Linked DNA regions of Homo sapiens: region 2 is linked to region 1. The links are contacts of gene promoters, found by promoter capture Hi-C in blood cells and fetal thymus (Javierre and others, 2016). All regions are on one chromosome and are shown on one strand. Each heading gives the region's core, a stretch centred on a gene start or on the middle of the fragment in contact. The rest is flanking DNA. Distances are from core to core; before and after follow the strand shown.

Region 1 (6,714 bases), core at 3,844-6,343:
ATACACATTATTTTCCTCACCATATGAACATTCTCAAAGATAAACCACTTGTTAGGCCACAAAACAGGTCTCAAAAGAATCTAAATAATTAAAACCATATCAAGTATCTTTTATGACCACAGTGGAATAAAAGTAGAAATCAATAACAAGAGGAACTTTGAACACTATACAAACACATGGAAATTAAAAAACATAATCCTGAATGACCGTTGGGTCATTGAAGAAATTAAGACAGAAATTTTAAAATTTCTTGAAACAAATGAAAATGGAAATACAACATTCCAAAACCTATGGGATACAGCAAAAGCAGTACTAAGAGGGAATTTTATAGCAATAAATGTGTATATCAAAAAAGTAGAAAAAATGATCAATAAAGCAGTCTCAGTATCAAAAATTATGCCATATGTCATTCCCTTCCCCAATATAGAAATTATTTAGAAATCAATAACAAAAAGTTCAAGAAAATGTATATTATGAAAAAAATCATGTAAGAATTTCAAAATGTTTTGCACCAAAATAAACTAATACTAACTGGTTATAAAATGTTTGAACAAGATCTAGTTTCAGACACTAAAAAAGATAAGACATCAGTCTGAAAAGAGCCCCTATCAGAGCAACATGAATTCTGCTAAAATTGAAGCAAGAACAAACATCAAATGTACAGTGAAGCTTGGGTAGAAGAATGATGAAATCATTGATGCTTTACAAAAAGTCTATGGGACGATGCCCCAAGGAAGTCAGCAGTTTGCAAATGGATAACTCATTTTAATAAGGGATGAGATAATATTGAAGATGAAGCCACCAGCAGCAGACCACCCACATCAGTTTGGGAGGAAAAAATTAATCTTGTTCATGCCCCAGTTGAAAAGGACTGATAATTAACAGTAAAAACAATTGTCAACATCATAGACTTCTCAGTTGGTTCAGTTAATGGAAATCTGACTAAAAAATTAAAGAAGAACAAACTTTCCACTTGATGGGCGCCAAAACCATTGTGCCAAAATCAGCTACAAACAAGAGCACAGCTTTCAATGAAACTTTAAACAAGTGGGATCAAGATCCTGAAGCATTTATTCAAAGCACTGTAACAAAAGTTGGAATCTGGCTTTACCAGTATGACCCTGAAGACAAAGCAAAATCAAAGCAAAGAGATGGAAGTGATCCAGTCCAAGCAAAAGCTGACCAGTTAAGAACAAAAGTCATGTCAACAATTTTTGGGGGTGCACAAGGCATTTTGCTTGTTGACTTTCTGGAGGGCCAAAGAACAATAACATCTGCTTATTATGAGAGTGTTTTGAGAAAGTTAGCCAAAGCTTTAGCTGAAAAATACCCAGGAAAACTTCACCAGAGAGTCCTTCTCCAACATGACAATGCTCCTGCTCATTCCCCTAGTCAAACAAGGGCAATTTTTCAAGCGTTTTGATGGAAAGTCATTAGGCATCCACATTGCCATCCTGACATGGCTCCTTTTGACTTCTTTTTATCTCCTAATCTTAAAAAAAAATCTTTAAAGGACACCAATTTTTCTTCAGTTAATAATGTAAAAGAACACTGATGTGGTTAAATTCCCAGGAAGCTCAGTCCTTCAGGGATAGACTAAGTGGCTGGTACCATTGCTTACAAAAGTGTCTTGAACTTGATGGAGCTTATGTTGAGAAATAAAGTTTATATCTTTATATTTTTATATTTTAATGTCATCTTCCACAAACTGTTTGAAGTTCCCTCATAACTAAAATGTCCCCACATGCTCAGATAAGAAACACATTTCTCAACCAATGTTTCTCAGATATTAAAGTACATACAAATCACCTGAGGATCTTCCTAATACGCAGATTTTGATTGACTCATTCTGAGATGAATTGAAATCCTGCATTTCTGACAAGCTCTCCGGAAGTGTTGATGCTTCTGGTCTTTCCACCACACTGTGAATAGCAAGGTTCAAACTAATTCATATGTCAGAAAAGATGACACAGTGGAAATTGAAGTGTTTATTTTTAAGTGAATGATTATGATAACAAAACACTGCAAATAAAAACTTATGAAGTCCAGCTAAAGCTGCATATAAAGGGAAAATTAGAGTCTTACCCACTTGGTTATACTGAAGAAAAGCTGAAAATGTATGAGATAACAACACAAATAATAAGTTAGAAAACAATAACAGAATAAAATGAAATTTTATTCAAAGAAGTTCAAAGAAAGGAAGATAAAGCTGAGAGGAGAAAATAATTAAATATTTTTTAATTTTCATAATATTTAAAATAAAATATAATTAAATAAAAATCAAACATAGAATCAACAAAACCAAAAGCTGATTTTGAAAAGACCAATTAATTAATTCACTATAGGAATAACAAAGAAAAAATTGAAAACACATTACCCATATGAAGAATAAAACACGTAGCCATCACTACAAACTCTATAGATAGTAAAGAGATCAAAGGACATATTGTGAGTGACCTTATGCCAAAAATGAAATTTAGAAGAAATAAACATTACTTGATGTGACCCAAGAAGAAATTGAAAATTTGACAGTTCTAAATTGTTAGGGAAATTAAATCTTAAATCTTTAAACTCAGTTGAGTTTTTCTGCTACATTCCAATGTCTGATCCCTAGCTCTATGGGTTTCAACAGACAGTTGTAGAAGCAGCAGAAAAATATCCTTGCTCTTATATTACAGCTACCGTGGTGTGTTCTTGAAGTCCAGCATGTCTAATCATGGGATCCTGTCACCCTACTTTCCTGACTATGAAAGAACTAGCAGATTCTCTGCTGGGCCAGTTTGTTGGAATGTTCTGGAAGTCATTCTGGGAGACCAAGCCCACAGTCAGCTTCTGTAGAGAGTTTATAAGCACATAATTCTGAGTATTAAAAATATTTCTGTTGAAAATAGCTAGTGTTTTTCATTTCCCAACTGATACACATAAATGCAACACTTTGCACATGTGAATAATTTGTCTTTTTACAAAATTATGCTACACTGTTGATAGATTCATTCCATATATACATGCAACATACTTAATTTTTCATAACTTTCCAATTCTTATTAACTCAACTTTTTGTTCCATAATAACTGTGCTTCTCTTTGTACCAGTACTTTCCATATTCTTATTGCTTTGGGACTAGCAAGACACAATGAGGTGAATAATGTTATTTCAATGCATCTTAAAACACCAGAAACCAATTAATATGCGATATTCAGGATTAACTGATTCCAAAGGGCTGTTAATTCCATCTCTTGATATTGACAAGTAGTAAGTAAATATGCCTAAGCTTGATTATTTTTGTTCATAGAAGTAAAATATACATTTCATAAAGTGAAAGTTCATAAGATTTGCTTTTATTGTTTTAAAAAATAACAGTTAATTTAAACAAAACTGAGGAGTCATTGGATACTATAGTAGCTAATGAAATCCTAAGAAGACATGAATTTCAGGAAGGCGAGGAACCAGGGAAACTCTTGAAACTTGAACAATTAATAATATTCAGAGCCAATGAGCTTCAATATCTGAGTTTCTTAGGAAATGTCCCAAATTAGCAGGGGAAAGCATCTGATTGGTAGGCTTGGTTCTATTGTTACACCTGGATCAATCAGCTACGACCAAGGAATCTGAGCAGTACACTATAAAAATTGCTGCTTTTAATTATTTCAACCATTGTGGAAGATAGTGTGGCAATCCCTCAAAAACCTAAAGTCAGAAATACCATTTGACCTAGCAATCCTATTACTGGGTATATGCCCAAAGGAATATAAATGGTTCTATTATAAAGACACATGCATGCATATGTTCACTGCAGCGCTATTCACAATAACAAAGACATAGAATCAACCCAAATGCCCATCATTTGGCCATTTGGATAAAGAATGGATAAAGAAAATGTGGTACATATATACCACGGAATACTATGCAGCCATAAAAAAGAATGAGATCGTGTCCTTTGCAGGGACATGGATGGAGCTGGAGGCCATTATCCTTAGCAAATGAAGGCAGAAACAGAAAACCAAATACTGCATGTTCTCACTTATAGGTGGGAGCAAAATGATGAGAACACATGGACACACAGAGGGGAACAACACACACTGGAGCTTACTGGAGAGTGGAAGGTGGGAGGAGGGAGAGGATGAGGAAAAATAACTAATGGACACTAGGCTTAATAGCTGGGTGATGAAATAATCTATACAACCAACCCCCATGACACACATTACCTATGTAACAAACCAGCACATCCTGCACATATACCCGCGAAGTTAAAAAAGTTTTTTTTTAGTTGCTACTTTAAAAGGATGTGGGAATCATTGTAAACTCAAAAGTTAAAGATGTGCCAAGAGCTGTCTCCCACGAACTTGTTTAACAAACGTACTGACTTTGTATGTTGATCCAATACCCATGCTGGCCACTGGACATACCAGTACAAACAAGGCAGAATCTTCACTCTCCTCTAGCTCTTCTAATTCTCATGCACTAAGTGCCAACCTTAGCATAACTGGGCTGACAATCAGTGAATCAAATATCTAACTCTTATCCTACTCCAACGTTAAGAAAGAGACATGCGACTGGGTGCGGTGGCTCATGCCTGGAACCCCAGCACTTTGGGAGGCCAAGGTGGGCGGATCACTTGAGGTCAGGAGTTTGAGACCAGCCTGGCCAACATGGTGAAACCCCGTCTCTACTGAAAATACAAAAGTTAGCTGGGCATGGTGGTGCATGCCTGTAGTCCCAGATACTCTACTTGGGAGGCTGAGGCAGGAGGATTGCCTGAACCTGGGAGGCGGAGGTTGCAGTGAGTCGAGATCACGCCACTGCACTCCAGCCTGGGCAACAGAGTGAGACTCCATCTCAAAAAAGCAAAAGAGAGACACATGCAAAGGGCTTGCTCTTTCTTTCTCATCTTACCTATCTTATGTTTTCCTCCAGGATCAAGAGCAAGGAATTTGTTGCATAGAGGTGTTCAAGAAAGGGTGTTTTCAAACAGAGTCAGAAAAAACACAACTATACTGCGAGCAGCATACAAACCTGCTTTGGCTGCACTTCACTGCTCATGGCATAAGGCCACGAAGAGGCCAATAAAGGCTGGAGCTCAGGAGCATCAACCCAGATTCAAGGCTTCCTCTCTGGCACCCAACCATGAAGCTCCTTTTTCCTATCTTTGCCAGCCTCATGCTACAGTACCAGGTGAACACAGGTAATGTGGATTCCCAAGTTTAAGATGGGTAGATGAGAGGAACCAAGGATTTGGCTGCCCATGACAATGGAAACCCAAAGAGAGGAGACTGAAAGATTAGCTGTTCAAAAAGATGGCTAAAGAGCTTACCTATTGTATCAGTCATGCACTGATACATTCTCATAGGCCCCAACTGCCAGATTGTGTCCAGTGGAAACACCCAGGAAGCTACAGAGAAAGCAGGGTATTTTTTGTCTATTCAGAAACTATCCAAAATATAATGCTGCCTTCCTGCCCTGTATATGTCTATCATGCTAAGACTAAGCCCAGGTCTACCTCCTTTTAGCTCTATTTCTATCTTAAAAGCCCTTTTTTTTTAAAAAAAGTCCTGGGGTACTTGTGCAGGATGTGCGGTTTGTTACATAGGTAAATGTGTGTCATGGTTATTTGCTGCACCTACCAACCCATCGCCCAGGTATTAAGCCCAGGATGCATTAGCTATTTTTCCTGATGCTCTCCCTCCACCCAACAGGCCCCAGTGTGTGTTGTTCCCCTTCCTGTGAAACCACCTCTTGAAGCAAAGTTTCCTATCAGTTTGTGCTTGGTGTAGAAAGGAGGAAGTTCTTCCCTCATGCTCAAAAAAAAACCCTTTCAAGATCAAGTAAACAGGCCTGTGTTCTCCATCTTGAATTCTTTCAGGTTTTCCAGAGCCTTTATCGCTTCTCTCAGACTTTGTCTTCCTGAAAACCCCCAAACTACCATAAGGGCATCTAGGAATGCATTATAGCAAAAGGCTAAGCCAGGGGATTAACCATTGTTTTTGGAAAAGAAAGGAGAAGCACTGAGATTTGTTTCAGAATACAAGAATCATCCAGCTATTTGAAAAAATTAGCAAAGGGTTTCGGGGCAGGGAAAGTGGAAGTGTCAAAGATGCTTCTAATGTTTTTATCTTCTAATGTTTTTATCTTGGGACCCTAGGAAAAGGGTAGTACCATAAGCAAGTATGGCTGTGTCATCTTGGGTAAAGTCACTTAACCACTTTGAACTTCAATTTCACATGAGTATAATGGGGTTAATCAATGCAGCTGATTCCAATATAAGAATTTTTCTGTTTCCCGTTTGATGAGAAAACAATGTGGAAATGTATGCAAATATGCTTTGAAAATTAGCAGATGCTACATAAATCTCTTGTAATTTAGGGAAAATCATTGGGTTATTAAGATGAACAAGGGAGAAAAGCTTTCTTGATTCAGAAAAAAGAAACACGAGACATTAGGATGGAAAAGTCATTCAGCAGATAAAGATAAGGTACTAAGCCGAGCAGGAAATTTAGAATTATAGATAACAATACAGAAGTTACCTTGGTGGATATGAGGTTAAGGCTAGGATAATGAATGAGACTTCTGAGAGATAGAGTGTCCAAAGAGGCTAGAAGAGATAGAACACCATGCTTCAGGAATCACAGATCTAGTGATTGTTGAGAAGAGAGAAGTCATGGGCTACTGAGTTTGGTGAAAAGATAAGACTCCTGAAAATTCTATTGATTCTCTTTT
Region 2 (6,102 bases), core at 1,375-3,874, 100 kb after region 1:
GGTGGGATTGGTCCCAGTGCCTGGCGCACATTGGCCTGCAGAGTAGATTAACTGAATGACCAAAGAGCAACAGAAGTCTAGTGATTCTTGTCTTTGAGGTTCTGACTGGTGTTTTACAACTGAGTCCAAGGCTTTTCCCTCCTTTGTCCCTCTGACACCCCTCCCCCTAATTCTCATCTGTCAGATCCAGTGTATTCCTAAGCTGGGACAAAGCCTCTGTTTTCCCAGTAGGAGCCAGGGCTGAGTGTGGAAATTACAGTGACTGCTTCTTCTCAGCTTCTCTGGTTGAAAGCAAGCTGGCGAAGTAAGAGGAGGTAGAGTTGAGAAGGTGTGGAAGATAGGGACAGCTGCCCCCAGAACTCCCTTCAAGGGAGGACTTCCCCAGCTATGGGAAGTGCCATCAGGGTGGCCGCAGCTGCAGAGAGCCACTTCACCTGAGACCACGCCCTTCCTGGGGCAGCCTGTATCTGGTGTCTGAGTGAGGCATGGTATAAACACCTGGTCATTTCAATCCAACATGGGACGGACACTGACAGACAGTACTCCCAGCAGGCCCAGGCCAGCCAGGGCTTCGTCAGGCCTGCAGCACAATTTGACTTCCTATGCCCAGGCCTGCTTCCTCTTCTTCCTCTTCTTTTCACAGGTGCTTATTCCTAATAAACATCTTGCAACCCAAACTCAGTCTCATTGTCTGTTTCTAGAGAAACCCAGTCTACAACAGAGGGTTCAAGAGACTGGACAAAGGGAATTGGGTCAGTGGCCCAGCAACTGCAGCTAGGCCGGTCGGATGTATCCTAATGTCAAGAGTCTGTTCACCGATGCCATCAGCACCAAACTAGGGGCTGCACACTTTCCTAGTCTGCACACCAGTCACGTCAATTAGAGACTCCAGCCTCAGCCCGAAGGCCTTCCAGGGCCCCCTGCTGATGCCATTCTCACTGCCAGTCCGTCCCCTGGTAAAAGCAGGTGGGAGGGAGGTCGTCATCTGAGTTTGTCTTACAGAATAGCCTGGAATGGGGTGCACGGTAAAATGCCTGACCGGAGATAATGCTAGAGCTGTGGAACCTTGGGCAAGCCTCTTCCCCTTTGTGGGCTGTACTGGGAGTCGGTAATAGGACTAGAAGAGGGACCATCTCATTTTGGTTCCTTCCATTTCAGATGCTGACCTGAAAGGTCGGGGAGACAGCTCCTTATGGGGTCTCTGGGGCCACCTAGTGGCTAAGAGGAGTAGAACCAAGGTTCTGTGCAGTTGGGAGGTGGGAGTCGGGGTGTGTCCCAGGCCAAGGAACTGAGTCCCACTCGAGTCTCACTCCATTCATGCATTGACTCATTGCTGGGTCATGCCCCTTGCCTGGGTGGTGTGAGCCACCCTGCTTCCAAGGCTTTCAAAACACCATACGCTGATGTATTGTTTCTCATCTATTGCTGCGTAACAAATTGCCACAAGCTTAGCAGTGTAAAACAACATGCATTTGTTATTTCAGTCTCCATGCATCAGGAGTCCAGCATGCCTTAGCTGGGTCTCTGCTCAGGATCTCACAAGGCAGCAGCTGGGGTGCTGGTGGCCCGCATTCCTTCTTGGAGCTCAGCAGCCTTTTCCAAGCTCTCACGGTAGTGGGCAGAATTCAGTTCTTTGTGCTTATAGGACAGAGATCCCTGTTCTATTGCTGGCTGTCAGTTAGTACCACTCTTGATTACTACAAGCTGCTCAGTTTCTTGCCACATGGCCCCCACAGGGCCTCCCCAGCCTTCTCACAATATTGCAACTTATTTTGTCAAGGCCAGAGGAGAATTTTTCTGCTGCTTGGAGTCACTTGGCTCAGGGAAGGTTTAAGCTCTCTTTTAAAAGCCTCTCCTGGCTGGGCATGGTGTGTTCATGCCTGTAATCCCAGCACTTTGGGAGGCCAAGGTGGGTGGATCACCTGAGGTCAGCAGTTCGAGACCAGCCTGGCCAAATGGTGAAACCCCTTCTCTACTAAAAATACAAAAATTAGCCTGGCGTGGTGGCAGTCGCCTGTAATCCCAGCTACTTGGGAGGCTGAGGCAGGAGAATCACTCGAACCTGGGAGGCGGAGGTTGCAGTGAGCCAAGACCAAGCCACTGCACTTCAGCCTGGGCGACAGAGCAAGACTCTGTCTCAAAAAAAAAAAAAGAAAAAAAAGGAAAAAGAGAGAGAGAAAAAAAAAGCCTTCCCTAATTAGGTCAGACTCACCCAGGAAAATCTCCTTTTTGATTAGGCATCAACTAATGTGGGATTTTATATCTGCAAAAAATCCCTTCACCTTTGCAGTATATTGTAGCCTTATAAGAGTGACAGCTGTCATACTAGATTTGCCCACACTCAAAAGGGAGGAGGCTGTCTAGGGCAGCTACACCAGAGACTGGGAATCTTGGGGGCCATCTTAGAATTCTGCTTATCACACACCTGTAATCCCAGCACTTCGGGAGGCCAAGGTGGGAGGATTTCTTGAGTCCAGGAGTTCAAGACCAACCTGGCCAACATAGCAAGACCTAATCTCTAGTAAAGTTTTTTTTAAAAAAATTAGCCAGGCACGGTGGTACACACCTGTAGTCTCAGCTACTTGGGAAGCTGAAGTATCATAGCTGAGAATTCTCAGGTCTACATCTCCATCCCAGACATGACTAGACTAGCTGCCTTCTTGTCATCTCCACTGATATATCTAATTGGCACCTCAAACTGGACATGCCAAAAAATGAACTGTTTCCACAGTGCTCCCAAGCCTGCTTCCACAGACCACATCTGCACAGCTGATGTGAAATGAAAGGCTAAAGCCTCTCAGTTATCCTTGATGCCTCTTTTCCTCCCAGCGCCATCTCCCTTATACCCTGTTGGCTCTACCTTCAAAATATGCCCTGTGTCTTGTCACTTCTCACATCTTCCATGGCCTCTGGGTCCAGGATATAAGGGCATACGAAGGGCTCCTTGCGTTTTCCTTTGCCCCACTCATAGTCTTATTGTCCACACAGCAGCCGGAGTGATCTGGTTAAACTGTAAATCCCAGCACACCCTGCCACTGTTCAAAATTCTCCAAAGACTCTCATTCAGTAGAAGCCAGAGTCCTCAGCATGGCCTGCAAAGCCCCATAAGAAGTAGCCTGTGGCTCAGCCTCGGCTTCATCTTCTACTTTTTCTGTTTCTCACATGCCCAGTCACACTGGTCTTGCTGTTCCTCAAAAGTGCCAATCACACTTCCGCCTGAAGGCTTTTGCACATGCTTTTCCCTCTGCTTAAGATACCCTTCCTCCGGCTGGGCGAGGTGGCTCACGCTTCTAATCCTAGCACTTTGGGAGGTCCAGGTGGGTGGATCACCTGAAGTCAGGAGTTCGAGACCAGCCTGGCCAACATGGCGAAACCCCTTCTCTACTAAAAATACAAAATTAGCTGGGCGTGGTGACACATGCCTGCAGTCCCAGTTACTCAGGAGGCTGAGACAGGAGAATCACTTGAATCCAGGAAGCAGAGGCTGCAGTGAGCTGAGATCGCATCACTGCACTCCAGCCTGGGCAAGACAAAGCGAGACTTCACCTCAAAAAACAAACAAAAAAATACCCTTCCTCCAGATAGCCACATGTCTTACTTCCTTCAGGTCTCAGCTCCCAGGGCGCCCTAGAGTAGGCACAGGGAGTACCTCACAGTGTCCTCCCTGACCATCCATATAAAGTAACATCCTCCATAAACTATCCTGTTACTTTGCTTTATTTTTCTGAATAGCATTTATCACTATCTGGCATTTATCACCTGTAGTTTTTACTTTTTGTCTCTCTCTCTCTAATTTGTATGTAAGCTTCATAAGGAAGGAATGACTCTGGACTGGACTCCATGCCTCAGCACATTCACCCACCCATTCAACAAACATTCTTAAGGGTCTAGGCTGGGCATGGTGGCTCATGCCTGTAATCCCAGCACTATGGGAGGCCGAGGTGGGAGGATCACTTGAAGCCAGGAGTTTGAGACCAGCCTGGGCAAGGAAACAAGACCCTGCCTCTAAAAAATACAATTTAAAAAAGTATCCAGGCACAGTGGCGTGAGCCTATAGTCCCAGCTACTCGGGAGGCTGAGCTGGGAAGATCTCTTGTGCCCAGGAGTTCAAGGCTGCAGTGAGCCATGGTCATGCCACTACACTCCAGCCTGGGTGACAGAGTTAGACCCTGCCTGTAAAAAAAAAAAGGTGGGGGGCAGGGTGGGGAAGGTTTGCCTTGACCAGGCCGCGTGCTAGGTGCCGGGCATACAAAAGTGAAAAACGTGATTTGTCCTCAGTGAGCTCACAGGTCTGAGGAGACACATAAACCCAGGAATGGAAATGCTTTGCTGGCGATGGACAGTGAGTCTGGGAGAACATTGAGGAGATGTTTAACCCAGACAATGGAGTGGGGTGTGGTCAGGTCATTCCCTGGAGGAGGTGATGTTTAAGCTGTGGCATGAAACCTCAGTAGGATGTGATGACCTTAGAACATGGCTACACGTTCTTTGACATTCCTCCTTTAAATTACCTTCCCTTTGAATCTGGGCTGGGCCTTCATGATCCATTTGTAACCAACAGGACACAGCAGACATGGTGCTGCAGGATTTCCAAGGCTAAGTCACGCTGAACCGCCATGTTGAAAGGCCAACAGCCAAGACTGCCATGTGGAGAAGCAGCCCGGGCCACGTGGGAAGACCATGTGTAGGTAGCTGCTCCAGTTGACAGCTGAGCCCAGGCACCAGACTTATGAGTTGAGAAGCTTCCAGGGGATTCCAGCCCCTCATAATTCAACTCACTCCCAGCTGTTGGAGGGCCTTCCCAGCAGAGGCCCAGCCATCACAGAGCAGAGACAAGCCATCCCTTCTATATCCTGTCTGAATTCCTGACCCAGAGTCCACGAACATAATGAGATGGCAGTTGTCCACACTATTAGGTTTTGGGGCAGTTTGTTATGAAGGAATAACTGGAACAATAGGATAAGGAAGAGTGAGGTGAAGGAAAGGACTTTACAGATGCCAGCAACAGTACATGGGAAGACCTGGTAAGAGTGGCTGACACAGAAGCTAACCAGCTTGCGGGGAAGGTGTGGAGAGAGGAGGGTGACAGGCAAGAGTGAGAAGGACCTTGAAGGTATTTGGACTTTATCCCGAGTCTTCACACTGCAGCCCAAGGGGTCAAGGAGTCTTTTTTTTTGTATGGTAAACATGGGGTCTTGCTATGTTGCCCAGGCTGGTCACAAACTCCTGGCCTCCAGAGATCCTCCTGCCTTGGCCTCCTAAAGTGCTGAAATTACAGGTGTGAGACACTGTGCCCAGCCTCCAAGGGGTCTTCTCTTTTTTTTGAGACCGCGTCTCGCTCTATTGCCCAGGCTGGAGTGCAATGGCGCAATCTCAGCTCACTGCAATCTCCGCCTCCTAGGTTCAAGCGATTCTCCTGCCTCAGCCTCCTGAGTAGCTGGGACTACAGGCATATGCCACCACACCTGGATAATTTTTGTATTTTTAGTAGAGACAGGGTTTTACCATGTTGGTCAGGCTGGTCTTGAACTCCTTACCTCATATGATCTGCCCACCTCATCCTCCCAAAGTGCTGGGATTACAGGCGTGAGCCACCATGCCCAGCCGGGGTCCTTTGAAAACACAAACCTGACCACTGCTGTAAACCTTTCGATGGCCCCTTACTACCCTCAGGATAAACTCTTGAAATTCAAGGCATTTTGCAGTTGACTCCCTCACTCTTTTATAGATTTATCTTCGGTCACTTTATCCTCAGCTACGCCAGGCCACTCTCCAGTGACAATGCTTCCCGCCTCACCCATGCTATTTATCTTTGCTCATGTGGAGGAATTAGTGGGACTTTGGGCTAATCACCTTGCCTTTCGAGGCCTCAGTTTCCCCATCTGTATGATTAGGTGGTTGGACTAGAAGTTTTTGTTTTGTTTTGTTTTTGTTTTTGTTTTTTTGAGACCGAGTTTCACTCTGTCGCCCAGGCTGGAGTGCAGTGCTGTGATCTCGGCTCACTGCAACCTCTGCCTCCCGGGTTCAAGTGATTTTTCTGCCTCAGCCTCCCAAGTGACTGGGATTACAGGCATGCACCACCAGGCCCAGGTAATTTTTTTG

The links. Contacts are between HindIII fragments. The CHiCAGO score rates a contact against its expected background, and 5 or more counts as called.
Region 2: a fragment that was not itself captured here is called in contact with the fragment with the promoter of DEFB129 in region 1 in 10 of 17 cell types (megakaryocytes, naive B cells, M2 macrophages and 7 more); the score reaches 9.1 in megakaryocytes.

Annotation. Positions count from the first base shown.
Region 1 is chr20:222,165-228,878 of GRCh38, forward strand. It overlaps DEFB129 (defensin beta 129), which reads left to right and starts at 5,094. Exons shown (of 2, transcript NM_080831.4): 1 at 5,094-5,182. The coding sequence starts at 5,125. The HindIII fragment of the contact is 3,129 bases long and covers 3,270-6,398 here.
Region 2 is chr20:329,548-335,649 of GRCh38, forward strand. SOX12 (SRY-box transcription factor 12) reads left to right here. Exons shown (of 1, transcript NM_006943.4): 1 at 1-677. Among named protein-coding and RNA genes, the nearest start is that of SOX12, 7.0 kb to the left of the region's middle. RefSeq lists an enhancer at 1,078-1,372. The HindIII fragment of the contact is 2,358 bases long and covers 1,446-3,803 here.